Linked DNA regions of Homo sapiens: all the other regions are linked to region 4. The links are contacts of gene promoters, found by promoter capture Hi-C in blood cells and fetal thymus (Javierre and others, 2016). All regions are on one chromosome and are shown on one strand. The core of a region is centred on a gene start or on the middle of the fragment in contact, and the rest is flanking DNA. Distances in the headings are between cores, read along the strand shown. Region 1 has its middle 4.0 kb from the start of PPID. Region 2 has its middle 15 kb from the start of FNIP2. Region 3 has its middle 310 kb from the start of MIR3688-1. Region 4 holds the start of RAPGEF2 (Rap guanine nucleotide exchange factor 2). Region 5 overlaps ETFDH (electron transfer flavoprotein dehydrogenase). Region 6 overlaps ETFDH (electron transfer flavoprotein dehydrogenase). Region 7 overlaps RXFP1 (relaxin family peptide receptor 1).

Evidence for each region. The method cuts DNA at HindIII sites, captures the fragments that hold promoters and counts their contacts. A CHiCAGO score of 5 or more calls a contact.
Region 1: a contact is called between a fragment that was not itself captured here and the fragment with the promoter of RAPGEF2 in region 4, in 17 of 17 cell types (non-activated CD4 T cells, activated CD4 T cells, naive CD8 T cells and 14 more). The highest score is 33.8, in non-activated CD4 T cells.
Region 2: a contact is called between a fragment that was not itself captured here and the fragment with the promoter of RAPGEF2 in region 4, in 11 of 17 cell types (non-activated CD4 T cells, naive CD4 T cells, activated CD4 T cells and 8 more). The highest score is 13.1, in non-activated CD4 T cells.
Region 3: a fragment that was not itself captured here is called in contact with the fragment with the promoter of RAPGEF2 in region 4 in 1 of 17 cell types (endothelial precursors); the score reaches 5.0 in endothelial precursors.
Region 5: a contact is called between a fragment that was not itself captured here and the fragment with the promoter of RAPGEF2 in region 4, in 11 of 17 cell types (non-activated CD4 T cells, total CD8 T cells, activated CD4 T cells and 8 more). The highest score is 18.6, in non-activated CD4 T cells.
Region 6: a fragment that was not itself captured here is called in contact with the fragment with the promoter of RAPGEF2 in region 4 in 17 of 17 cell types (non-activated CD4 T cells, naive CD8 T cells, naive CD4 T cells and 14 more); the score reaches 22.7 in non-activated CD4 T cells.
Region 7: a fragment that was not itself captured here is called in contact with the fragment with the promoter of RAPGEF2 in region 4 in 4 of 17 cell types (total CD8 T cells, naive CD4 T cells, naive B cells and 1 more); the score reaches 7.9 in total CD8 T cells.

What each region holds. Positions count from the first base shown.
Region 1 is chr4:158,725,490-158,729,299 of GRCh38, forward strand. No RefSeq gene overlaps it. Among named protein-coding and RNA genes, the nearest start is that of PPID, 4.0 kb to the left of the region's middle. The HindIII fragment of the contact is 5,384 bases long and covers 1-3,810 here.
Region 2 is chr4:158,752,673-158,756,229 of GRCh38, forward strand. No RefSeq gene overlaps it. Among named protein-coding and RNA genes, the nearest start is that of FNIP2, 15 kb to the right of the region's middle. The HindIII fragment of the contact is 5,362 bases long and covers 1-3,557 here.
Region 3 is chr4:159,441,852-159,445,406 of GRCh38, forward strand. No RefSeq gene overlaps it. Among named protein-coding and RNA genes, the nearest start is that of MIR3688-1, 310 kb to the left of the region's middle. The HindIII fragment of the contact is 1,364 bases long and covers 1,099-2,462 here.
Region 4 is chr4:159,101,300-159,105,059 of GRCh38, forward strand. RAPGEF2 (Rap guanine nucleotide exchange factor 2) reads left to right here and starts at 1,780. Exons shown (of 30, transcript NM_001394067.2): 1 at 1,780-2,932. The coding sequence starts at 2,864. RefSeq lists an enhancer at 930-1,621 and silencers at 1,270-1,809, 1,940-2,159, 2,200-2,489, 2,238-2,532, 2,500-2,919. The HindIII fragment of the contact is 5,553 bases long and covers 1-3,760 here.
Region 5 is chr4:158,687,394-158,690,104 of GRCh38, forward strand. All of the region lies in intron 5 of ETFDH (electron transfer flavoprotein dehydrogenase), which reads left to right. Among named protein-coding and RNA genes, the nearest start is that of ETFDH, 16 kb to the left of the region's middle. The HindIII fragment of the contact is 2,604 bases long and covers 1-2,566 here.
Region 6 is chr4:158,706,593-158,710,419 of GRCh38, forward strand. It overlaps ETFDH (electron transfer flavoprotein dehydrogenase), which reads left to right. Exons shown (of 13, transcript NM_004453.4): 12 at 37-258; 13 at 1,772-3,031. The coding sequence ends at 1,935. It overlaps PPID (peptidylprolyl isomerase D), which reads right to left. Exons shown (of 10, transcript NM_005038.3): 10 at 2,535-3,232. The coding sequence ends at 3,144. Among named protein-coding and RNA genes, the nearest start is that of PPID, 15 kb to the right of the region's middle. The HindIII fragment of the contact is 4,560 bases long and covers 1-3,573 here.
Region 7 is chr4:158,636,890-158,640,291 of GRCh38, forward strand. It overlaps RXFP1 (relaxin family peptide receptor 1), which reads left to right. Exons shown (of 18, transcript NM_021634.4): 13 at 1,119-1,190; 14 at 2,371-2,442. Among named protein-coding and RNA genes, the nearest start is that of C4orf46, 33 kb to the right of the region's middle. The HindIII fragment of the contact is 348 bases long and covers 1,281-1,628 here.

The DNA of each region.
Region 1 (3,810 bases), core at 805-3,304, 380 kb before region 4:
GTCGGTGAAATTTTAGGACAAATCAGTAAGGATATTATATTGATTGAATTTTTCTGTGTAATCACAAATTTGCCTTATTAACAAAATGCATACATACATAGGCATGTCCACATAGATACTCAGCAAAAGTTGATTCAATTATATGACAAATATTTAGCTCTTACTGTATGCCAGCCTCCATTCTGAGTGCTGATGATACAATGATGAAAAAACATATTCCTTATCCTTTTTTTTTTTTTTTTTTTTTTTTTGAGACAGGGTCTTGTGCTATCACCCAGGCTGGAGTGCAGTGGTGCAATCACAGCTCACAGTAGCCTCAACCTCCTGGACCCAAGTGATCTTCCCACCTCAGCCTCTTGAGTAGCTGGGACTACAGGCACATGCCGCCATGCCCAGGTAATTTTTTTTTTTAATTTTTAAGTGTAATTCAAAATGATTTCCTATCAGATTTCCTTGCTGATCCTTTCAAATTCCAGCACATTAAAGTTAATACAAAATGTTAATTTCTTATGTTCTCCAATTCCTGGTGTTTATTCATGGTATTTATTCATGGTGGTTCCCTGAAGATCCAGGACGGCTCAGAACAAAACTCCTGTGTCTCTTGATAAACAAGAGCATCAAAATCATTCATTAATCCAGTCTCATGTCTGGGCTGCAAACTGATAACTTATATTTTGTCTCATATATATCACAATAAGTTCACATTAACATTTTTATTCTGATCTACTAGCTTAAATTTAACATTTTAGTAGAGATGGGGTTTCGCCATGTTGCCCAGGCTGGTCTTGAACTCCTGGGTTCAAGCAATCTGCCCACCTTGGCCTCCAAAAGCATTGCAGGCATGAGCCACCACGCCTGGCCCCTTATCCTTAACTACACAAATTATACAGTCTTATGGGGGAGAAAGACTATTGAATAAACCTCTACAATGCAATATAATTAGTGTTTTAATAGGAAAAAGACAATCACATTCAGCACACAGCAGGGGCACTGAACACAGTAGCCTTTTCTAAGGTCAGAAATATGAGTAAGATCAGTCACAGGAGCATATGTGGCAAGGAAGACAGGTAAGGAGGGAACAGGTAAAGAGCATCTTCAAAGGAGGGGAACTATATATACTTATAAAGTGAAAATGGGCAACGAGAATGTTATTTCTCCATGAGAAGCCAGTTTTTTAGATAGTGCTGCTACTTCAGGTGGGTGTGGACCACTTGTGTATTAGTCCATTTTTCACACTGCTATAAAGGAATACCCGAGACTGTGTAATTCATAAAGGAAAGAGGTTTAATTGACTCACAGTTCCACATGACTAAGGAGGCCTCAGGAAACTTACAATCATGGCAGAAGGTGAAGGGGAAGCACACTTGGACCTTCCCACGTGGTGGCACGAGATAGAAGAGTGAGGAGCGAAGGGGAACAACCTCTTATAAAACCATCAGATCGCATGAGAACTCACTCACTATCACAAGAACAGCATGGGGGAAACCACCTCCATGATCCGATCTCCCTAGACACCTGGAGTCTCTCCCTAGACACATGGGGATTATGGGGATTACAGTTCAAGATGAGATTTGGGTTGGGACCTAACCATATCAACTGGTTTCAATGTTGAAATCAGAAGTCATGCTTTGGTTTGTATTTTTGTCCAGCTCCTTCAGATTGAGTTTTCAAAATGAGTAACAGTTTTATAACCTAGCCCATTTTATCCCTGAAATAGAAAGGAAAAAGAACACTAAGAGGAGCAAACTCAAAGATACCCCTAATTTACCTTTCCATAGCACTTATAACTTTGTAATATACTGTTTACTTACTTATTTCACATACTCATTAAAAATCAGCTCCTTGGGAATGATAGATAGTAAGAGGAGTTTAAAAAAACAAAATTTAGCTCCACAAGGACAAGAACCTTTGTTTTTTTCATTACTCTATCCCCAGCACTTCTAACAGTGCCTGACACATAGTAGGTGCTCAGTAAATATTTTTGAATGAATGAATTATACAAAATACTAATGGCTTTGAGAATTTTATGAAACAATGTTAACAAGAAATTTTATTTCCATGCCTTTAAGTGTAATTCAAAATGATTCTGTGTATCAGATTTTCATGCTGATCCTTCCAAATTCCAGCACATTAACATAAATATAAAATGTTAATTTCTTATGTTCTCCAATTCCTGGTGTTTATTCACGGTATTTATTCATGGTGGTTCCCTGAAGACCCAGGACGGCTCAGAACAAAACTTCTGTATCCCTTGATAAACTAGAGCATCAAAATCATTCACTAATCCAGTTTCATGTCTTGGCTGCAAACTGGTAACTTTGTCTCACATATATCACAATAAGTTCACATTAACATTTTTATTCTGATCTACTAGCTTAAATTTAACATTTTATTACAAGAATTGACACCCATATGCCATAGCCTCTCAACCATTATTATCATGATGAATATACTTAGGTAGGCATATCTTCTCTGCCATCAGAATTCTGGGGTTCACATTCAGTCTGTAACACATCATATTTTGTGCCTTTGGACGAGTTACTTAGCCTCTTTGTGCCTCACTTTCCTCACCTATAAATCAGAATAATAATATGTATCTCCTAAGGTTATTATGAAGATTAAATGAAAAATATTAAATAAAAGTGTTTTAGTATCTGACACACAGTAAGTACTCAATAAGGGTAAGCAATTACTAACCATAAGTAGCTAATACTTCATTATAATAGTTACATCAACATATTTCAAAATGGATATTAAAACTGCAAAGGAGTTTTGAGGATTCCTTTGCATTCTTACAAGGAAAAAAAAGTGACTCTTTCTGCTCTACTGGTTTCTGGGTGTAAAAGATTAATTCAGATGTTACTCTCACTATGTCTAGGTTTTTCACAGTAAAGCAACAGCTTTATATAAACTGTCATATTCCTAGAACCAAACCAAATAAAAGAATTGTACCTTTCAAAACCACTCAGAACTGGATCTCCAGTGAAAAGATAAACCTTTTCCTAGAAAACACTTGTTCTACTGTCAGTCTGATTACATGGAACAGGACTTCTGAGTTCTGACATCTTGTCTGTGCTTAGCAAGGAAAAGAGCAGAAGAGGCAAAAGCATGCCCCGTTTCTTAGGGTTAACACAGTTTCATCCAGATGGAGTGGGGAGTTTTCCTGATAGCCTTGTTGTTATAATTTCTGCCTGTTGCTCATAAATGTGGTAGAATAATATTAATAGATTGCCTTCCTCCCCAATATTCTCTTTTCTCAATCTCATTGCCCATCACCCCAAACAAGCAGCTAGGCATTCTGTGCTCTTTGCTTTTAAAGAAAGAAGTGACAGCAAAGAAAGCAGAGGGAACAAAGGGAATCTCTTCCTGTCTTTGGTGTTGCAAAAGGCTTGGCTTTACAGAAACAGATAAGACTCTTGGCTATAGCAAAAGATTTGGACAAAACATCTTTTATAAGATCATGGCTTTCCATTCTCAGAAAAAAAATCAAACAAAAAACCCACTTTCTGTGTTGGGAGATGACAAGATTGTGGATGGTGCACAGGGGAAAGTGAGAGAGGAGGCAATGGCAAGGCAGATTTCCACAGTCCCAGAGACAGGGAGTCTTACCATGGTCCCCGTCACATACCTGGGAAGCCACCAAACCTCCATAGATGGGTTTGTGAAATCCAGGAGCAGAGGGACGTGTTCCTTGATTCCTGAACTGTCCCAGGAAGGCAACAGGCCCCAGAAAGAGAACAAGATTCATGGTGTGATTAGGTAGATGGGAACTAGACAGGGTCACAGAGATTTTGTATGCCCTAACTTGAA
Region 2 (3,557 bases), core at 422-2,921, 350 kb before region 4:
ATTACAAATTTGAGGCTGGGCACAGTGGCTCACACCTGTAATCCCAGCACTTTGGGAGGCTGAGGCAGGAGGATTGCTTGAGCCCAGGAGTTTGAGACCAGCCTGAGTGACATACTGAGACCTCATCTCTAAAAAAAATTTTTTTTAAAGTTAGGTGTGGTGGTGTATGCCTGTCATCCCAGCTACTCAGGAGGCTAACTAAGGTGGTAGAATCACATGAACCCAGGAGTTCAAGGCTGCAATGAACTATGATTGCACCACTGCACTCCAGCCTGGGTGACAGAGCAAGACCCTGTCTCTTAAAAAAAAAAAAAGTGGGAATACTACTACTACTTCTCTCAGAGGGTTGTTGCCAGGGTTAAAGGAAATATGAGATACACACAAGGAAAATGCTTAGAACAAGGCTTGAGATATAGTAAGTGCTATGCATGGGATTGCTATTACTTTTAAGAAATGGTATGCCACACCTAAGAATGTCAGAGATGACATATGAATGAGGCACCTCTGATATGTGAATTACTACATAATCAGCTTAAATACAAATAATGGTCATACTATATGTTACTGTTCATTCAACAAATATTAACTTGTCACTTGCTGGTTTGTACTTTTCTATGTGATGCATCTTCTTTTAAAAATGTTTTATACTTTTTATTTCCACAAAAATAAAACTTAATTTCTCTAATTTCTTAATGTATAAGGGTTTATAAAAAATAAATCAAAATGTAATACCTTCCGTTTTGGATTTCATGCCAAAAATAAAATTACATTTTGCTATGTATCCAAATTACATCTTACGAACTCCTATAGTGTTTTATAAAGACAAAAACAAATTTTTAAAGGTTGAAAAAAGCTGGGCATAATGGAACATGCCTCTACTCTCAGCTACTTGGGAAGCTGAGGCAGGAGGGTTGCTTAGCCCAGGGATTTGAGACCAGCCTGGGCAACGTGGCAACACCTAGTGGCTATTTTTTCTTTTCTTTTTTTTTTCTTTTTTTTTTTTGAGACAGAGTTACACTCTTGTTGCCCAGGCTGGAGTGGAATGGCGTGATCTCAGCTCACCGCAACCTCCGCTTCCTGGGTTCAAGCAATTCTCCTGCCTCAGCCTCCTGAGTAGCTGGGATAACAGGCATGCACCATCACGCCTGGCTAATTTGTATTTTTTGTAGAAACGGGGTTTCTTGATGTTGGTTGTTCTCAAACTCCTGACCTCAGGTAATCCGCCCGCCTCAGCCTCCCAAAGTGCTGGGATTACAGGCATGAGCCACCGCACCTAGCTAAATTTTCTTTTTTAAGTGTTGAAAAAGTTTGGTAGAGACTGGCTTGCACAATAAAATTACTAAAGTGTTGTCTAAATGTATGCAATTGGCAAAATACCTGCATTAAATTTTTCCAGTTGGACTATAGTACTTGTAAGTGGCAGTTATAACCATTTAAAAATTATTGAATAACCACATACGAACTTTTTTTTCAACTGAATATAATTTAGCTACAGGGTTGGTCAACATCATGGTAGGTAACAATGGATTCATACTAACTTTTTCAAGCCCCTAGATTTCTAGCCAACACATTGCAAGTAGTAATGCACTGGTTTTCACCATAGCAATATACTAAGCAATGGACTAAAAATTTAGCCAATGCTTTCCAATCTGTATCATTTAATGAATTTTATAAAGTGTTTAACTCACTTAACAATAATTAGCTCTGCTTTTGATCTTAAATAAGTAATGGAATCTCAATTATTCTTGGATAAAGGCAGGCAAGCAGGAGGCAGAGAACAGTAATTTTTAAACTTGTTTAGGTTTGAGGCATCACAAGAGAATCTGAAAAATTGTGGACTCTCTTCAAAAAGCTGCACATTCCTACAATACTTTGTACACAATTTGAGGGATCTAAGTGCTGTTTCTCAAAGTATCATCCATAGACCATCTGCTTCCAAATTTCTTGAAGTTCTAGTTAAAAGTTCAGATTCCTGAGCACCACTGCAGATTTACCAGATTGGCCCAGAAATAGGATTTTTAACAGTGTCCACAGATGAGATTATTTTAAGATAGACTGTATTTTTTATCAAAGAAGAATGCACAAATAGCATATTCATGTGTAACATTTTAAAAGTCAAATAGTACTAAAAAGATTGTAATTAAAAAAAAAAAAACAATAGTCAGGCTGGGTGCAGTGGTTCATGCCTGTAATCCCAAGGCGGGAGGATCGCTTGAACCAGGAGGTTGAGAACAGCTAGGGCAGTATAGTGAGACCCTATTTTTACCAAAAAATTTAAAAAATTAGCAGGGTGTGGTGGTACATGCCTGTGGTTCCAGCTACTTGGATGGCTGAGGTGGGAGGATCGCTTGAGCGCAGGAGGTCGAGGCTGCAGTGAGGTATGATTGCACCATTTAATTCCATTCTGAGAGATAGAGCAAGACCCTGTCTCAAAAAAAAAGCAAAAAAACAACAGTCTCCTATTGCAATCTTTCCCACACCCAGTCTCAGCCCTACAGGTTACCACCCTCAACTTTTCTAGCTAATTTCACTGATATTTTACTCTATATCTTAAAAAATTTATATGCTCATGTCACTATGTCTTGACTAGCCAATTTTAGTCCTTGTCCATTGACTTCCTGCCATGGTGAATAAACAGTAGGATCTTACTACCCTATGCTAACTTTACTTTCCTTCCCCCATGTCCCAGTATAGTTGTATAATAACTTTTTGTTAAATCAAGTCAACATTAATTATTAAGACAATGTATTGCACAGAGCCAGATAATGCATTACAACCTCTTTTCCTGCATAGCTTTCATTTTTTTCTGAAGTTAGTAACTGCCACATTGCATCGTTTGGTTTTCCATTTACCTATTGTTAATTTTTTCCCAGTGTTCCAGTGTCTTTGCATATACTTATCATTGACTTTTTTTTTTTTTTTTTTTTTTTTTTTTGAGACAGAGACACACTCTGTTGCCCAGGCTGGAGTGCAGTAGCACTATCTTGGCTGACTGCAACCTCGCCTCCCAAGTTCAAGCAATTCTCCTGTCTCAGCCTCCAGAGTAGCTGGGACTACAGGCATGTGCCAGAGCACCCAGCTAATATTTTTCTTTTTGGTAGAGACAGGGTTTCACCATGTTGGCCAGGCTGGTCTTGAACTCCTGACCTCAAGTGATCTGCCTGCCTCAGCCTCCCAAAGTGCTGGGATGACAGGCGTGAGCCATCACGCCTAGCCAACAATGATGTTTTTTATGCCCAAACATTTAAGTTCCATTTTTCTGAGCTACTCCTGGTGCCCTCTTCCCTCCCCCTCCTCTCTGGCCTGATTGTTTTGTTTTGTTTTTCTTTGAGATGGAGTCTCGCTCGGTCACCCAGGCTGGAGTGCAGTGGTGCAATCTCAACTCATTGTAACCTCTGCCTCCCAGTTCAAGCGATTCTCTGGCTAATTTTTGTATTTTTAGTAGAGATGGCGTTTCACCATGTTGGCCAGGCTGGTCTCAAATTCCTGACCTCAAGTAATCCACCTGCCCCAGGCTCCCAAAGTGCAGGGATTATAGGCGTGAGCCACCACACCCA
Region 3 (3,555 bases), core at 531-3,030, 340 kb after region 4:
CGGAAGTGCCTTTTTTTTTTTTTTTGAGATGGAGTCTTACTTTGTCCAGGCTGGAGTGTGAGGGCATGATCTTGGTTCACTGCAACCTCTGCCTCCCAGGTTCAAGCAATTCTCCTGCCTCAGCCTCACGAGTAGCTGGGATTACAGGCACTTGCCACCATGCTCTGCCAATTTTTGTACTTTTAGTGGAGACTGGGTTTCACCATGTTGGCCAGACTGGTCTCAAACTCCTGACCTCAAGTGATCTGCCCGCCTCAGCCTCCCAAAGTGCTGGGATTACAGGCATGAGCCACCACGCCTGGCCAGAAGTGCCATATTCGTTAATAAAGGTGTGTAAGATCTGAAAGTAGAAACAGAGTTTAGGATGTAGATTGTACTGGGAAGGCACAGGAATGGAACTAGACAGATAGGCACATGTACAGCTTGATTGGTCAAGCACGGTATCATATAGAATCTATAATAAATATTTAGTCCAGGGGCCCAGCTATCATCATTAAGTCCAAAAGAGAATGTAGGTACTTCCTAGGGGTATAACATAATGTCCTTCAAGAATATAGAACTAAGGACAATAAGACTACTCTGAAAGAATTAAATACATAACTATTCAAGAATCATCAGCATAAATATACATAATATAATCTTATAGTCCAGATCAAGTCTTGACTAAAATTATTGGCATATTTCTTTTCTTTCCCCTACAAAATACTATGTTAATTAATGAAGTGGGAGAAATTGGTCATCCATAGAAACATCAAAAACAAAAACAGATCAGCCTGTTTTAGGGGCAAATGTTGGCAACGACCACATAGGTGCACTCTGGGTAGAGAACATCTTGACCCAATGACTTGTCAGTTCTTTGAGCAGATAATATACCTTTTCTTGAGAGGATTGCATCATGTTTTGAGAGCCTGATAGTTTAACATTTAGATCTGTTAACTAACTCACATGTAAACCAGTGAGACCTGGTAACCTGAGAAGTTTGGCTATAGGAACAAAATATGCTGGCTAGATAATATGAAGTGCTAAACCCCTAACTAAATATATTTCTTGCTGAAAGTTTATAAATTGACACGCTGGCTTACACATGAGGATTTTGAAAGCTTTGTTACTATCAGTTGGTATCTTTGAACTTGGCCAATCATGAGACTTGGGAAAGTCAAACTTGTAGGTCTTTGTAAGAGTGAACTCTGTATTTTTGTTAATGTACTAAGGTACTGTCGCTCTTTGTGGCTTTGTGTCAGAAGCCTGAGGATAGTTTTGGCATTACTCCAACCTCATCATACCATTTGTGGTTGAATTTCTGCAATAATAATGGGGTATCTTAGTGTTAGTATAGACTATTACAACTGGGAACCATCAGCAGATCAGGGGCTCAGACACTGGGACCGTGTGTGTGTGTGTGTGTGTGTGTGTGTGTGTGTGTGTGTTTAGGATGCAGGAGAGGAGAATTTGGATGAGAATATGAGGTGAGCCCACAGGCAGAAGGGAATAAAGAAAGGCACTACTAGCTAATTTTTATATGCTATTTACTATGTGCCAGGTATTTTCCCAAGCTCTTTTATGTTTATTAACTCACTTAATTTTTATAAAACTCCATGGGGTAAGTACAATTGACTTCTTTATTTTAAATATAAAATTGAGACACTTAGAGGTTAAGTAAACTACCCAAGGTAGAGTAGGATTTGAACTCAGGATGTCTGGTTCTACAGTCTGTGCTTTTGACCATTAAACAACCATCATCATAGGATCATGTAAGAATTCCAGTGACTAGGAAAAGATCTCAGAGCTGGCATCTGGAATTACTTATCCCTGAGTGCTAGAGGCGGTGACTTTGTACCCCTCCTCCCTTGGGAAACTGCAGGTAACATCTTTAGTGTTTATTGAGTGACACTCTATGCTCGGTGTTAAGCTAGGCATTTTATACTATCTCCTAATAATTTAGGGTTAGTTCTAGAAGGTTCATAATGGAACCAAATGCCAGATGATGATGATAATAGTACTAATAAAAATATTGTGATACTCTATAGCAAAAACAATGATAATGAAAATAGCAGCTAATATTTGTTAAGGGCCTTCATTGTGCCAGGCATTGTGCTAAGCACCTTTTATACACTATCTCATTTATAACTTCCCCAAAGCCTGAGGTGAGGACTATCATTTGGTAGAATTGTTGCATTTTCCAGTTTTTTTTTCATTTAAGCCACAGAGAGGATAAATAGTTCACGAATGGCTCTGGTTGAGGGTAGAAGAGAACTGTAAGGAGGGAGAATCAGAATGGTTTTGAAAGTTGTGGAGATTAAATGTGTAAATATTTAGACAAGTGGTTTATATTATAAACAGCTATACGAATGAAAGATTGCTTATACTATCCACCCTGATTTTGCTGTATACTGAAAGCACTCAGAAACCAGCCGGCAGGGAACACAGTCTGCCCCATCCCACTGGAGGATGCTGGCAGCAAAAGCTTCCACCATCTGGCTTGGCAGTGCCAGGCTCTTACCTTGCCCAGGTGCCTGTGTGGATAAGATGGTGGGAGGGAAGGCAGAACCTCCGAATCCATAACTCCCAAATCCTCAAGGGAGACCAAAATATTATTCTGTTGCTTTCTGGAGTTCTCTCAATTTGAATTAAACTTTCCAGTTAAGTCCCATCCATTGGCCAAGTTAGTTTTTGGCCAACCCAATCTTACTATCTTCCATGGGTCCTGCTTGATGCTGCCTCTTCTGGAAGTGAGAATGGGCATTCATCCCTACCATGCCAATTTCTCAAGGGATAAAAAGGAAACTTCCACAAATATTTCACTTCAGTAGATGATGAAGATTCTATAAAGAGATCATACAACTAGGGAAATCTTCCCTTTTGATCATGTCACTTTCCTTTTCAAAAATCTCTGTAATTCTTCAGTGCTTGCAGAATCAATCCCCAAATCCACCAGCCATCATTCAAGGCCCATTAAAACCACACTAACTAACCATCCTTGTCCAGTCACTTCTGCCTCCTAGAGGTGCATGTGCAAGTGGGAAGTGATGGTGAAATTAACATCCTGGTGGTGAACCTCTGACTAATGGGAAACCAGACACCCTTTCCAATCCTACCAAGATGCATTTTATGTAACGTCTCAGGGGTGCAGTTCTACAGATCCAGCAATGAGTTGCATTTAGCTGTGGCCAGATCAAAAATGCATTCTTGTACTGGTTCTCCCTCCCTCCTTGCTTCCCTTCTCTTGTCACTCACTTCTGCTCCCTAATAAAGTAATAAATTATGTGCAAGGTCTCTTCTGCCTCAGGTTTTGCATTTTGGAGAAGCCAGTAAAAACAGTTAAGAACATAGTTTTTGAGATCCTTGTTCTCACTTGTCAAAAATATTATCATTAATCATAATATTATTTGTTTAAGAGCATGTAAGATTATTGAATAAGAGAAGGGCTCAGACTCCACATTGTGTGGTTTTGAATCCTGGCTTCACCACTTAAAGACTGCAACTGGGCTGTATGTGGTGGCTCACACCTATAATCCCGGCACTTTGGGAGGCTGAGGCTGGCAGATCACGAGGTCA
Region 4 (3,760 bases), core at 530-3,029:
GTGGTTATGACAAAGTGCTGGCCAGACATGATGCTGGATTGCACCAGGGTCATGGCAGTAGAAGTGGTAGATAAAGGTTAGAGTTCAGATATGGCATTCTGGAGGTTGAGCTGACGATTTTTACTGACACTTTTGAGGTATAACAGAAAGAAAGGAGTCAAGGAAGTCAACGTTTTCACCCAGGAAGTGAGAATGGTGTAGATGTGATTAACAGAGGATGGGGAAGGCTGTGGGTGTCTGAGACAGGAGATCTGGAGCCTGGTTTGCACATGTGAATTCTGAGATGTCTATTAGACACCAGGTGGAGATGTCAGTTATATTTTTTCACTTCATTGGGTTTGAATTCTTTTATCTGCCTCTCTCCTTTTTTCAGAGCTGTATTGGCACTTATTCATGTTCCTTTGCTTTCAAGGTAGTGGCCTATGTCATAGAGAATTTGATGTTGGCGCTCAACTAAGAGGTGAAAGAGAAATATAGAGAAGCAGTTCCAGCAAGAGTAATATAAAAAGGTCTACAGATACAATTTGTAACTCAGATTCCCTTTCACAAGGTTGGGCAGGGACAGTCCCTTTGCTAGGAAGTCACACAAGCTGTTTAGTGCACACAGGTGACTTAAGGAACCCCAAAATGTTAGCTGACAATCTATTCCAAGTGTTTAAACTAGATGTTGAAAATCATGTTTGAAAAGTTCAACGCAGTAGCTCATACATAAAACTCATTGTGTCTATAGATATCAAAATAAGAACTTGTGGGGGGTGGGGGCAAACAAAAATAAATCCCTGGGACCAGAACAGCAGAGTGGTCCCCGATGCTTGGGCTGACCTTAACACACCTCTACGTGGCCGGGGCAAGGAGTGGGGGGGAGCTGAGGGAATCAGCAGGAGCGGTGACATCTTGAAGGACGAGGTATTGTTTCTGCACCATGTGGGTCCGGTTTGGAAATTTGAGCATCTAGAGGAGGAGGCTTGTTCTGTCCAAGGCAAAGCCAGACCTACCAATAAATGTTTCTGATTATGTCACAGAACTTGCCATCCTGGTCTGTCGCTAAGGAGTGATCAACTTTAAATCTGGAGTGTTTGTTGGTCTAGGGGTGGTAGTGGGTCTGGTGTTGAAACCTCTCTGCCTAATTTCGTGGTCATTTTACTGTCTGAGGTGCCAGAGTGGGCTTGGAAAGCAGGGGAGGGTGCAGCAAATTACAAATAAGCAAAATAAATCCTAAGAGGATTTATCGCCACAGAAGCAACTCGGACGCAACTCTTGGGCTCAAAAAGAATGCCCAGTACAGCCCGGGCTGGTGGGCCGGTCTTTTGCCCAAGGTTAGCTTTCAGCCCCTGGGCGGCGGCGTGGCGCCAGGAGCGGGCGGGGAGCAGCGACCCGACGCGGCTGGGTCTCCTAGTAGGGCGCGTCGGGTGTGGGGAGGGGGCGCGGCGTGAGACAGTGGGGGACACTGCGTGAGGAAAGCCCTGCGCTTCTCTCCGGGGCACCAGGACTTGCGCCCCCTCTTCGGGTCCAGGCCGCGCGCGGGACCCGACAGCCCGGCCGAGGGCTCCGCGACCCACTTGCGGCCAGAGCGCTGCTCACCTGGGCGCCGCCGAAGGTGCCGCTCAGACGCGAGGGCGCGGCCGCTGGCGGGCGGGGAGCGGGGAGGCGGGACCCGGCGCGACGGGGCTGCCCCGCCCCCCGATGATGCGGCGGCCGCCGACTCGCCCCCACGCTGTCACTCATTCCTCACCATGGTTGCAGCACAAAGCAACAAGCCCCAGAGGCCGCTTCCTCCCTGAGGAGCGGCTCCGGCGGCCGGAGAAGGCGCAGGAGGAGGAAGAGGCGGAGGAAGAGGAGGGGAATCGCCGCTTCCCAAACACTCTCTCCGAGGGGGCTGTGCGCGGCTCTCGGCTTTCGGCCCTCGGACGCCCGCGCCGGGAGTCCGAACCCGGGCTGTCCGCGGCCCCCTCTTCCCCCTCCTCCGCCCCGCGCAGACGAGGAACAAAGTTGCCGAGAGCGACTGGGCCGGAGGGCTGCAGCCCGGGCCGGGTGCTCTGGCCGCGGCGGCGCCGGCGCCGGGGCAGCTCCGCTCCGGGCGCGCTGATGGGGGGAGGCGGCGGCGGCGGAGCCCACAGCGGCGGCCCGAGCAGCAGAGGCGGCGGCGGCGGCGGCTGGGCGGCCCGAGGGGATGCAGCAGCAGTCGGGAGGGACGGCCGAGCCCAGTAGACAGAGACCAGGAGCGGCGGCCGAGGCGATCGGGCTTCGCAGCGCCCGGACCTGAGCCAGACCCACCTGGTCCGTCCTCCCGACCGGCGGCCGAGGCGCCCGAGGACTGGGGACGCGGAAGATCCAAGTGATTCTCGGAGACCCCTGGGCGGCGGCTGCGCAAGCCCCTGAGAGGAGGGGGCGACCCTCAGCGCCGTGGGGGAGGAGGCTCCGCCTGCCCACAGCCCTCCCCACTGCCACTCGTACCTCCCTAAAAATAACTCGGGCCCGCTGGGGCCAGGAGGAGCCGCCACTGTCCCCCGAGTGGAGCCGGGGAGGCGTGTCGAGCCAGGGCCGGAGGAAGCCGGCGGAGCGGCGAGGAAGAGGAGGAGGAGGAGGAAGGGGAGTTCCGCCTGCGGGCCGCATCGCACGGCAGCCTAGGGGCGCCGCGACCCTCCCGGCTGCGTCCAGCCCCTCGCGCCTGTACCGCGCTCTCGGCCGCCGGGCCCAGCCGAGCCGCCCCCCCGCGGGCCCCGCGCCGCCGCCGCCGCGGTTTGGCTGATTAGTCGCGGGCGGGCGGGCGGGCGCAGCGCGCAGGGCGGAGGCAGCAGCGGCGCTGGGCCGGGAGGAGGCCGGCCAGGGTGCGGAGCGGCCCCGGCCCGCTCCCAGAGGGGAGATGGCGTCCTACGTAGATAACAGCTTCCGCCAGGCGGTGATGAAGAATCCCCCCGAAAGGACCCCCCAGGTGAGAACGCGGCGGCCGCCTGCCCTTGGCCGGATTTCTGCCTCGCAGGCTGCGTCTTCCCCTGTCCCCCCACCTCCTTCCTGACACAGTTCGCCCCGAGCACCCCACTTCTTGCATCAGGACCCCCAACTTCCAAAGGCATCCCACCTCCGAGTCTTTTACTCCGCCTATCCTGGTTTTATTTTTCCCTCTCCTTGACATTCTGCTCCTTAACTCTTCCCTCCCCATGACTGACCTTTCCCACTATGTTGCCCAGCCGAGAGAGAGAGAGAGAGAGAGAGAGAGAGAGAGAGAGGGAGAGACAGAGAGAGAGAGAGAGAGAGTGTGTGTGTGTGTGTGTATGTGTGTGAATGTGTGAATTCTCTAGCTTTCCCTCTCCCCAGCCGCCCTCCGTGGCCTCTGAATCTCAGGGGATGGAGTCTCATCTCCCCTCGGGCAGCGACTCTTGCTCCCTCTGACTCCAGATCCGTTCCTCCCCTTGCAAGTGACCCTTGGAGTTCAGTGGTGTTTGAAAGGTATAGGAGGAAACCTGTACGGTTGTGCTAAAGACAAATCCATGCTGACCTTCAGTAAAACATTGAGGTGTTTGTATGTTTACTGTTTTGCTTTTATTTTTTAAAGGATACTGCTTTCAATTGAAGGGAAAAAAAGTTGAATAGCTAAGTTAGTGCTTTTAGTTTAAATTGCAGACATAGCTGCAGAGCAGGCATGTTCCAGTACACCCTCGGGAAGGGCACCCTGCGGATTCTTTTGGTGTTGCACAACCTTGTCAAAATTAGATAAGTTTGTTAACCTTTATACATTTGTTTACCTGCAGGCTTACTCTTC
Region 5 (2,711 bases), core at 15-2,514, 410 kb before region 4:
GGATATCGGTTTCTGAGCCTCAACATCAGCATGCCAGGGACATACTTTTTAGGGTATTATCTTAAGAGCCCCAGCACTAGCTTAAATATTCTCAGTGCTTTCAGCCATGACGGTACATAATTTGAGTTTTGAGTTCTTTCAGTATTCTTGCTGCCCACTTCTGAATGGAACCTCTTCTTACCCCCTTTACAAAGTGGCACCCAGAATGAATAAACCACTTCATGTCTAGTGTAGAACTGTTATCTTCTCCATTCTAGAAACTGGTCTTCCATTAATTCCCTCAAAGTAATTACTTTTTTGGCAACTACATCACACTATTGATTCTTATTATGCATTACTGGGGAAATTATTAAAAATAAAATCTTGGCCGGGCGCAGTGGCTCATGCCTGTAATCCCAGCACTTTGGGAGGCCAAGGCAGGCAGGTCACGAGGTCAGGAGATCAAGACCATCCTGGATAACATGGTGAAACCCCGTCTCTACTAAAAATACGAAAAATTAGCCGGGCATGGCGGCACGTGCCTGTAATCCTAGCTACTTGGGAGGCTGAAGCAGGAAAATTGCTTGAACCCAGAAGGCAGAGGTTGCAGTGGGCCGAGATCATGCCACTGCACTCCAGCCTGGGTGACAGAGCGAGATTCCATCTCAAAAAATAAAAAATAAAATCGCCTGAGGACCCAGAAAAATTCTCTTCATAAATTATAAAAAAGAATGAAACAGGCCAGGTGCAGTGACTCATGCCTGTTATCCCAGCACTTTGGGAGGCCCAGGTGGGCGGATCACGAGGTCAAGAGATCGAGACCATCCTGGCCAACATGGTGAAACCCCCTCTCTACTAAAAATACAAAAATTAGCTGGGTGTGGTGGCAGGCGCCTGTAGTCCCATCTACTCAGGAGGCTGAGGCAGGAGAATCACTTGAACCCGGGAGGCAGAGGTTGCAGTGAGCCGAGATGGTGCAACTGCACTCCAGCCTGGCAACAGAGTGAGACTCTGTCTCAAAAAAAAAAAAAAAAAGGGCACAGTGGCTCACACCTGTAATCCCAGCACTTTGGAAGGCTGAGGTGGGCGGATCACGAGGTCAGGAGATCGAGACCATGGGGAAACCCTGTCTCTACTAAAAGTACAAAAGATTAGCTGGGCGTGGTGGTGGGCACCTGTAGTCCCAGCTACTTGGGAGGCTGAGGCAGGAGAATGTCGTGAACCCGGGAGGCAGAGCTTGCAGTAAGTCGAGATCACGCCACTGCACTCCAGCCTGGGTGACAGAGCAAGAGTCCATCTCAAAAAAACAAAAAAAAAGAACGAAACAGTTTTATTCTTGAATTAGGCTTAAACCAAGACTGATGCATATCACAGGCCAAGACAGAAATCTCACCCTTTTAAATAGCCAGGTAGATACAATCCATTCATTACATACATGTTAACTGTTTTTACAGATACAATCTATTCATTACATACATGTTAACTGTTTTTACTCTAAGGAAAAATAAAATATCTCGTTTTTTTGTTGTTGGTTTTTTTGTTTGTTTTGTTTTTTGACAAGCAGGAAGTTACAACTTAGAGCCAAACACCTACCCAAATTCCCATAGACACAGGAAGACAGGAGGCATCCTTCTTGGTGTTCCATTTCAAAGCAATGGCTCCAAAGCCCTAAAAAAGACATTCCTGGAATGCAGTTTAAAAAGACTGCCATGTATCTCAGAGAGACAAATAAAGGATTTACAGTTGGAAGTTTGCTAAAGGAAATGCTGAAAGAAAAGTTATTGGCAGCAAGGAAAATTCAGTTTTTTTTATTTGTTTTTACCCTTACAGTTTGTAAGTCAAATAAAACACGTAGGTCCCTGTATTATACTTGCTGCTATAAATTTCTGTTTTCCTAACCCATATACATGCATTTGGGGTTTTTGGACCCAAGTGTGGGATTTTGCATTTCTCCTTGTTAAACATTGTTGACTGGAATCGGTGTCAAAGTCACAGGTAGGTGGTTTGTAGAATCCATGATTTTCACTTTTGGAATACATACATGAACACTTATAGTCACTTGTATCACTTTTCTTTTTCTCGGGTCCTTAATGATTACCATCAACAGATTATTGATCTCTTTGCCAGGGTTTTTTGAGGGTACACTGAGCCAAACTTCAGTTTAGTCTGTAGCCATATTCTGCTGTTGATTTGTTCGTTTTCAGGATCTCAAATAAAACCTTCATATATATATATATATATATATATATATATATATATATATATTGTGGGGGGGTGGGTTCATATCCATTGCTGCTAATCTTTTCTTGTACTTCTCCATGCCCATGCTTTCTTACAATCTGCTGTGTAATTGCATTGTACATTTTGTACTTTACTATCCAGCGAGCATTTTCCTCCACAGAGAAAACAGAAACCAAGGGTTACAGACTATTGCTATTTCTCCTCATCAGAATTACACTTTTGACCTATTTTCCCCTTTTTTCTTGCTCCAAAAATAAACTTTTATCATCCTTGGTCTGTCTTCAGCTTCTCCCTGTTTTGTTTTATTTTTGTTTATTGAATGAAGTCTTCACTCATTTGAGATGTAAGCTTTCCTGACAGTTTCTCTCCACCTTCATGTTCTTCATGTGTTACAGGCCTCCATTTCAGATTCTTTACACGATTTGACATCTGAAGGGCACTTCTTGTTTAATCTTACTGGTTTCCCTAGTAATCTCTCTAGTAGTCTCCCC
Region 6 (3,827 bases), core at 44-2,543, 400 kb before region 4:
ATATTTTGTTAAGCATTTCCCTCAAAATTGTTGAAGGTTCTGACTTTGAACGGCTCAAGCCAGCCAAGGATTGCACACCTATTGAGTATCCAAAACCCGATGGACAGATCAGTTTTGACCTCTTGTCATCTGTGGCTCTGAGTGGTACTAATCATGAACATGACCAGCCGGCACACTTAACCTTAAGGGATGACAGTATACCTGTAAATAGAAATCTGTCGATATATGATGGGCCCGAGCAGCGATTCTGTCCTGCAGGTAATAATTTCCATCTATTCCTAAATATTTGCTTTAAACATTTTAGGAATGTGATTTTGTTCTTTTAAAAAATGATTTCTGTATCTCCTTCCATTCCTTAGAAATTGTAAATGACTTCATCCAGCTTCCTTTAGGAAACATACTTTTAACTACTGGTTTTGTTAAGCCTAGTTCAGATAACATTTCTCAAAAAAAAAAAAAAAGCCCTTTGTCTACACTCAGACTAAGATGAAGATTCTTGAAAATGAAATACCTCTCTTTGCAGGTTCATGTGACTATTTAAAGTCATTTCTGTCATGGCAGCTCATCTGTATGTATTTGGGTGCATGTACTAGAACAGCACATTATGATTACATTCAGTCCAAGGAATGCTCTGAAACTTTAAATTCACCATGAATATTCTTTCAGTGCTGAGCTTTCAACTGAAATTACAGTAATAGGAACCAGGTCTCAAATGATATGGTAGAACAAAATAGTATTCCGATACTCGAAAAGTAGTACATTCACAAAAGAAGATACACTGTGACTTGGTCTTTTGGCTTTTGTCATTACAGTGGGTTGAAAACTCCCTGAGGTTAAATTTGGTTTTTTAGCTGTACCGTTAGGCTCCTCTTACCCCCAGTCACCCACGGTCTGAAAATAAGAAAATTCCAGAAACAAATAATTCTTGAGTCTTAAATTGTGCACGTTAAGTTTTAAATTGTGTACCATTCGGGCTTGCCCCACCCTGAATGTGAATTATCCCTTTGTCCAGCATATTCACACCTAACATTCGTTATGTTACTTGGTAGCCATCTAAGTTATCAGATTTACTGTCACATTATCATACTTGTGTCCAGTAACCCTTTAGAAATATCCCCACAACGCAAGAGTAGTGATGCTGACAATTCAGAGATGCCATAAAGTGCTTCCTTTAAGTGAAAGGAGAAAGTTCTCTATAAAGAGAAAAAAATCCTATGCTGAGGTTGCTAAGGTCTATGGTAAGACTGTATCTTCTGTGAAAGAGGAAAAAGAAATTTGTGCGTTTTGCTGTTGGACCTCGAACTGTAGAAGTTATGGCCAGAGTGTGGCAAGTGCTTCCTTAAGATGGAAAAGGCATCACATTTGTGGGTGAAATACATGAACAGAAACGTGTTCTGACTGACAATGTAAGTTGAGTACTACCTGAGGTTTCAGGCGTCTACTGGGGATCTTGGAACTTGTCCCCTGTGAATGAGAGGATGACTGTGAATAAGGGAGGACTTCGAGGTTGTGTGGAACTCAAACACTCAGTGTCGAGTACCCTTGATAGTGAGACAACTCAGCTGAATACCGCTGTACCTCCTTTTATTATGTACATGTAATTTACACTCACATCAATAGCAATGCACCAAGGTCTTCATAATCTCTATGGGTAAGCATTCAGAAAGCAACCTTTAAGGTTTCTGTGGCTACTCTTTCCTTAATTTTTACTTTTGAATTTAAAAATTTTTTAAAGTTAGGCACTTCAATATTATTTATTTTTACTTTTCAGGAGTTTATGAATTTGTACCTGTGGAACAAGGTGATGGATTTCGGTTACAGATAAATGCTCAGAACTGTGTACATTGTAAAACATGTGATATTAAAGATCCAAGTCAGAATATTAACTGGGTGGTACCTGAAGGTGGAGGAGGACCTGCTTACAATGGAATGTAAACTGCAGCTAGCCAGTTTCTTTCAAGTATGGCAAGCTAACGTTAAAATGTTTAGAGATTAACAGATTTCAGAATGTCTTTCTGCATATTACTGAACAGAATAGTCACAAAATGATTATCAAATAAAAATTTTATACTATATGTAAGATTGTCCCATAAAGAAATTACGGGTATTGCTTTTAAATAACCTTTATAAGAATGCAGCATCTTCCTACCTCTTCAGTTCTTCAGAGATTCAGTACCAAGAGCAAAATTCACTACTGGACTTTACATTTGACTTGCCAAAGTTAAGTAATCAAATATAAAAATGAATATATATTCTAGACTAAAGTTTTATTGAAACACAGCCATACCCATTGGTTACACATTGTCTATGGCTAATTTTGAATTACAACTGTGCAGGTGAGTGGGTGTGACATTACATGGTCTACAAAGCCTAAAAACTTTATGATCTGGCCCTTGCAGAAGAAGTATGCCCATCCCTGAACAAGTTTGTGTGTGTGTGTGTGTGTGTGTGTGTGTGTGTGTGTGTATTATCTATAAGTATGAAAACCTAGCATCATCCACCATGGATACATCAAAGAATCGAAGGAAACAATATACAAACTTAAGCTCTCATCTCTTTATTCAATAAGATGTGTCTTTACAAGTTTAAAAAGACTGGACACCATTATTTTTTATGAATAATGCACATAACCATTTTAAAAAACATTTTACTTGGCCGGGCACGGTGGCTCACACCTGTAATCCCAGCACTTTGGGAGGCCAAGGCGGGGTGGATCACAAGGTCAGGAGTTCAAGACCAACGTGACGTGACCAATATGGTGAAACCCCATCTCTACTAAAAATACAAAAATTAGCTGGGCGTGGTGGCACGTGCCTGTAATCCCAGCTACTTGGGAAGCTGAGGCAGGAGAATTGCTTGAACCCGGGAGGCAGAGGATGCAGTGAGCCGAGATTGCGCCACCGCACTCCAGCCTGGGTGACAGAGCAAGACTCCATCTCAAAGAAACAAACAAAACCACTTTACTTACTGTATTGTGACATGTTTATTAAGCATGAACCCCTATCAGTACTCCTAAACTGTAAACAGTAAGGAACTAAGGTGTCAAAAGAAACACATTAGGGATCATATTCATAGACAAAAACCTTTACATTTTCTTATTGCATTTATACAATCAACACACAATAAGCAAAACTGAATCCTTTCTAAGCAAACATTTTTGCATATACTGCCTTCTCTTTATCTTTCTGTGCCTTTATCTTTTGTTTGACTTTCAGCAATTCTGCCTGGATAGCTGTAAAATAAATATGCAATGTGAGTTATTTCTCAAAATATCCAAAAAATTATGGTGACTAACAAACTATTTTAATGTTAACTACCCCTTGAAAAAACTTCTCTACAAAGTAACTAAGCCCTAGTAACAGAAAATCTGAGCAATCACACAAACACAGAAATGAAACGTAATTTTAGAGGATGTCAACTGAGAGAACTCAAGTACATCAAGATTTGCCTTCTGCCTCTACATTAGAGAACAGTAATTGCTTCCCTTGTTTCATTTTAGTAATAAGAGACCAAAGACATTTTGTAATACCCAGATCTAGTGTCACTATTCATAGTTGGTTTATTTGAAAAACAAGCTTATTTTTGTCATAGTTTCCTAAAACATATAACCAGTACATCAATACTAAGGTTATAGCCACATTCAACTTGAATGGTCCCAAATGTTAAATTTACCATGAATACTGTGTCTTACAATGCTGAGCTCTCGACTAGACTAACCAGAATAGGAACACAGTCTCAAAGGATACCATAAGACAAACAGTATTTAGACATATAAAAAACTACAGAGATGATAACTTGAAGAATAAATAACGTGAAAAACTACTATA
Region 7 (3,402 bases), core at 205-2,704, 460 kb before region 4:
AATATATTCCAATCCTTTCCCACCTGCCTCTAGTGACCACCTTCTACTCTCTACTTCCATGAGTTCAACTTTTTTAGATTCCACATATAAATGAGATCATGTGGTAATTGTCTTTCTATGCCTGACTTACTTCATGTAGCATAATGTCCTCCAGATTCATTCATGTTGTTGCAAATGACAGGATTTTCTGTGTTTTTTAAGGCTGAATAGTATTCTATTGTGTATGTATACATATTTTTTTATCAAGTCATCCTTTGATGGACACTTGGGTTGAATCCATACCTTGGCTATTATGAATAATGCTGCAATGAATATGGGAGTACAGAAATCTCTTTAATATACTGATTTTATTTCCTTTGGATATATATCCAGTAGAGGAATTTCTGGATCATGTAGTAGTTCAATTTTTGATTTTTGAGGAAGCCCCATACTATTTTCCATAATGGTTGTACTAATTTATATTCCCATCACCAGTATGCAAGGGGCAACCTTTTCTTCAAATCATCCTCAACCCTTATCTTTCATCTTTTTGATAAAAATTATTCTAAAAGGTGTGAGGTAATATTGTGGTTTCAGTTTGCATTTCTCTGATGATTAGTGATGTTGAGCACTTTTTCATATACCTGTTAGTCATTTATATGTCTTCTTTTGAAAAATGTCTATTCAAGCCCTTTCCCTAATTTTTAACCAGCTTATTTGTTTTCTTGCTGAGTTGTTTGAGTTCCTTACACATTTTGGGTATTAACCACTTACCAGATATATGATTTGCAAATATTGTCCCCCATTACACAGGTTGTCTCCTCACTCTGTTGATTGTTTCCTTAGCTGTGCAGAGGCTTTTTAGTTTTATGTAATCCCATTCATCTATTTCACTTTTGTTGCCTATATTTTTGGGGCAATATCCAAAAAAATCATCACCCAGGTTAATGTCCTGGGGCTTTCCACCTATGTTTTCTTCTAGTCGTTTTATAATTTTACAGTTTAAGTCTTTCATCCATTACGAGTTATTGTATACTTTCGTTCATAAATATGTTAAAGTAACCCAAAATAAACAGATTCACTCGCTTTACTCATGTAGTTTTTAGAAATGACCTATTGCTGCTTTTTTTAAAAAACAGGAATCTTTCCTATAATCCAATCCAGAAAATTCAAGCAAACCAATTTGATTATCTTGTCAAACTCAAGTCTCTGTAAGTATTCACATATGGGGATAGTTTTATGATAAAATTGTTTTTTAAATACTAACAATGTATATTTTTATATATTTACTTCAAATCATAAGCTTTATTTCCAAGACATTAGTTTAGCTCCACAAAAACATATGGGTGCTTGCTGAACTATAAACAGACAACTATTAGTTTTATCTTATATACTTGTAAATTAAAAAATAATGATGAATTATTTTATATTTTTCTATAAGTCATTAGGAGCTTATGTTGATTTGTTTGCTTTGACCCTTCAAAGACATCTGTGCATATTCACTCTCTTAACACTGGGTATTTTATAATTTATTATAAGTGTTTTTACCCCAAGATGGAATATGCTAGATTATATAAATCCTTACTTGTACCACACACACACAAAAAGACAAAAATTCTGTTAGAGCCAAAGAATTGCCTTAAAAGATAAGCTTCAGGGCTGAGTGCAGTGGTTCACACCTGTAAACTCAGCACTTTGGGAGTCCGAAGCAGGAGGATTGCTTGAGATCAGGAGTTGAAGAACAACCTGGGCAACATAGGGAGATGCTGCCTCTACAAAAAAATAAAAATAAGCAAATTAGTTGAGTGTGGTGGCATGCACCTGTGGTCCTAGCTACTTGGGAGGCTGAGGTGGGAACATTGCTTGAGTTGGGAGGTTGAGGCTGCAGTAAGCCCTGTTCATACCACCACACCAGCCTGGGCAACAGAGGAAGACCCTGTCTCAAAAAAAAAAAAAAAAGGTAAGCTTCAGTTCATTTAATTTGAGTGTTCCCTCAGTAAAATGACATTTTATTAGAAAAAAATTTATTAATTAAAAATTACTAGGAAATTTTCAAGGATGTAAAGCATCCTCTGCTATTGTAATATTGTACAAAAGATAATGCTTGTGCATTTATTCCACACATATTTATTGATTAGTTAAAATGCACAAAGCATTGTGCCATGATCTGTGAGGATCTGAAAAAAATCAAATAAGGAAGATAATACGTGTATAAATAACACAATCAGAAGGAGGAGGATTTGGGGAAGTGGGTGGGTTGAGTATAATTATTTTGTTCAGAGTAAGTGTTAACTAAAAGCATTTTATTAAATTGTCCTTCACAGAAACTCAATTTATTAAACCATGTATAATACATGTTCCTTTGATTGATTATTAATTTGATATTTTTAGCAGCCTAGAAGGGATTGAAATTTCAAATATCCAACAAAGGATGTTTAGACCTCTTATGAATCTCTCTCACATGTAAGTAGATATTTTATTGTTTTTCACTGTGATGTTAATATTTGTTTCCATGTGTATTATGATAATGCATCCAATCTATTAATATTTTCTACTAATTTGCCAGCTATAAACTGAAAGTTTGTGTTCCTCCAAAATGTATATATTGAAATACTAACCCCAATGCAATGGTACAAGGAGGTAGGGCCTTTGGGAGGTGACTAGGTCATGAGGACAGAGCCCTCATGAGTGGGATTAGTGCCCTTAGAAAACAGACTCTGGTCCAGGCCAGTGGCTCATGCCTGTAATCCCAGCACTTTGGGCGGCCGAGGTGGGTGGATCACCTGAGGTCAAGAGTTCAAGACCAGCCTGGCCAACATGGTGAAACCTCGTCTCTACTAAAAATACAAAAATTAGCCAGTCGTGGTGGTGATTCCAGCTACTCAGGAGGCTGAGGCAGGAGAATCGCTTGAACCCTGGAGGTGGAGGTTGCAGTGAGCCAAGATGGTGCCACTGCACTCCAGCCTGGGCGACAGAGTGAGACTCCATCTCAAAAAGAAAAAAAAAGAAAAGAAAAGAGACTCTGGAGACGACCCTTGCCCCTCCACCTTGTGAAGACAGACAGAGAAGATGGCCATCTATGAAACATGTGGTCCCCTACCAGACACTGAATCTGCTGGCACCTTGATCTTGGTCTTCCCAGCCTCCAGAACTGTGAGAAATGAACATTTGTCGTCTAAGTCACTCAGTCTATGGTATTTTTGTTACAGCAGCCAAGTGGACTGAGACATGTCTAAACAATAATTAAAACTCTTAAACCTTTGATATTGGGTGAGATGATTTTAGTTTTCCACAGTCTGGTAGAATCTCATAGGAGATTTTTTGAATCTCAGGAAACATGATGTGAGGGGAATCCACTTGGTCTTGTAAGAAGTTCTCCTCAGCTCTAATAACTGTTCACAGATATTGATGTTTGCCTAATGA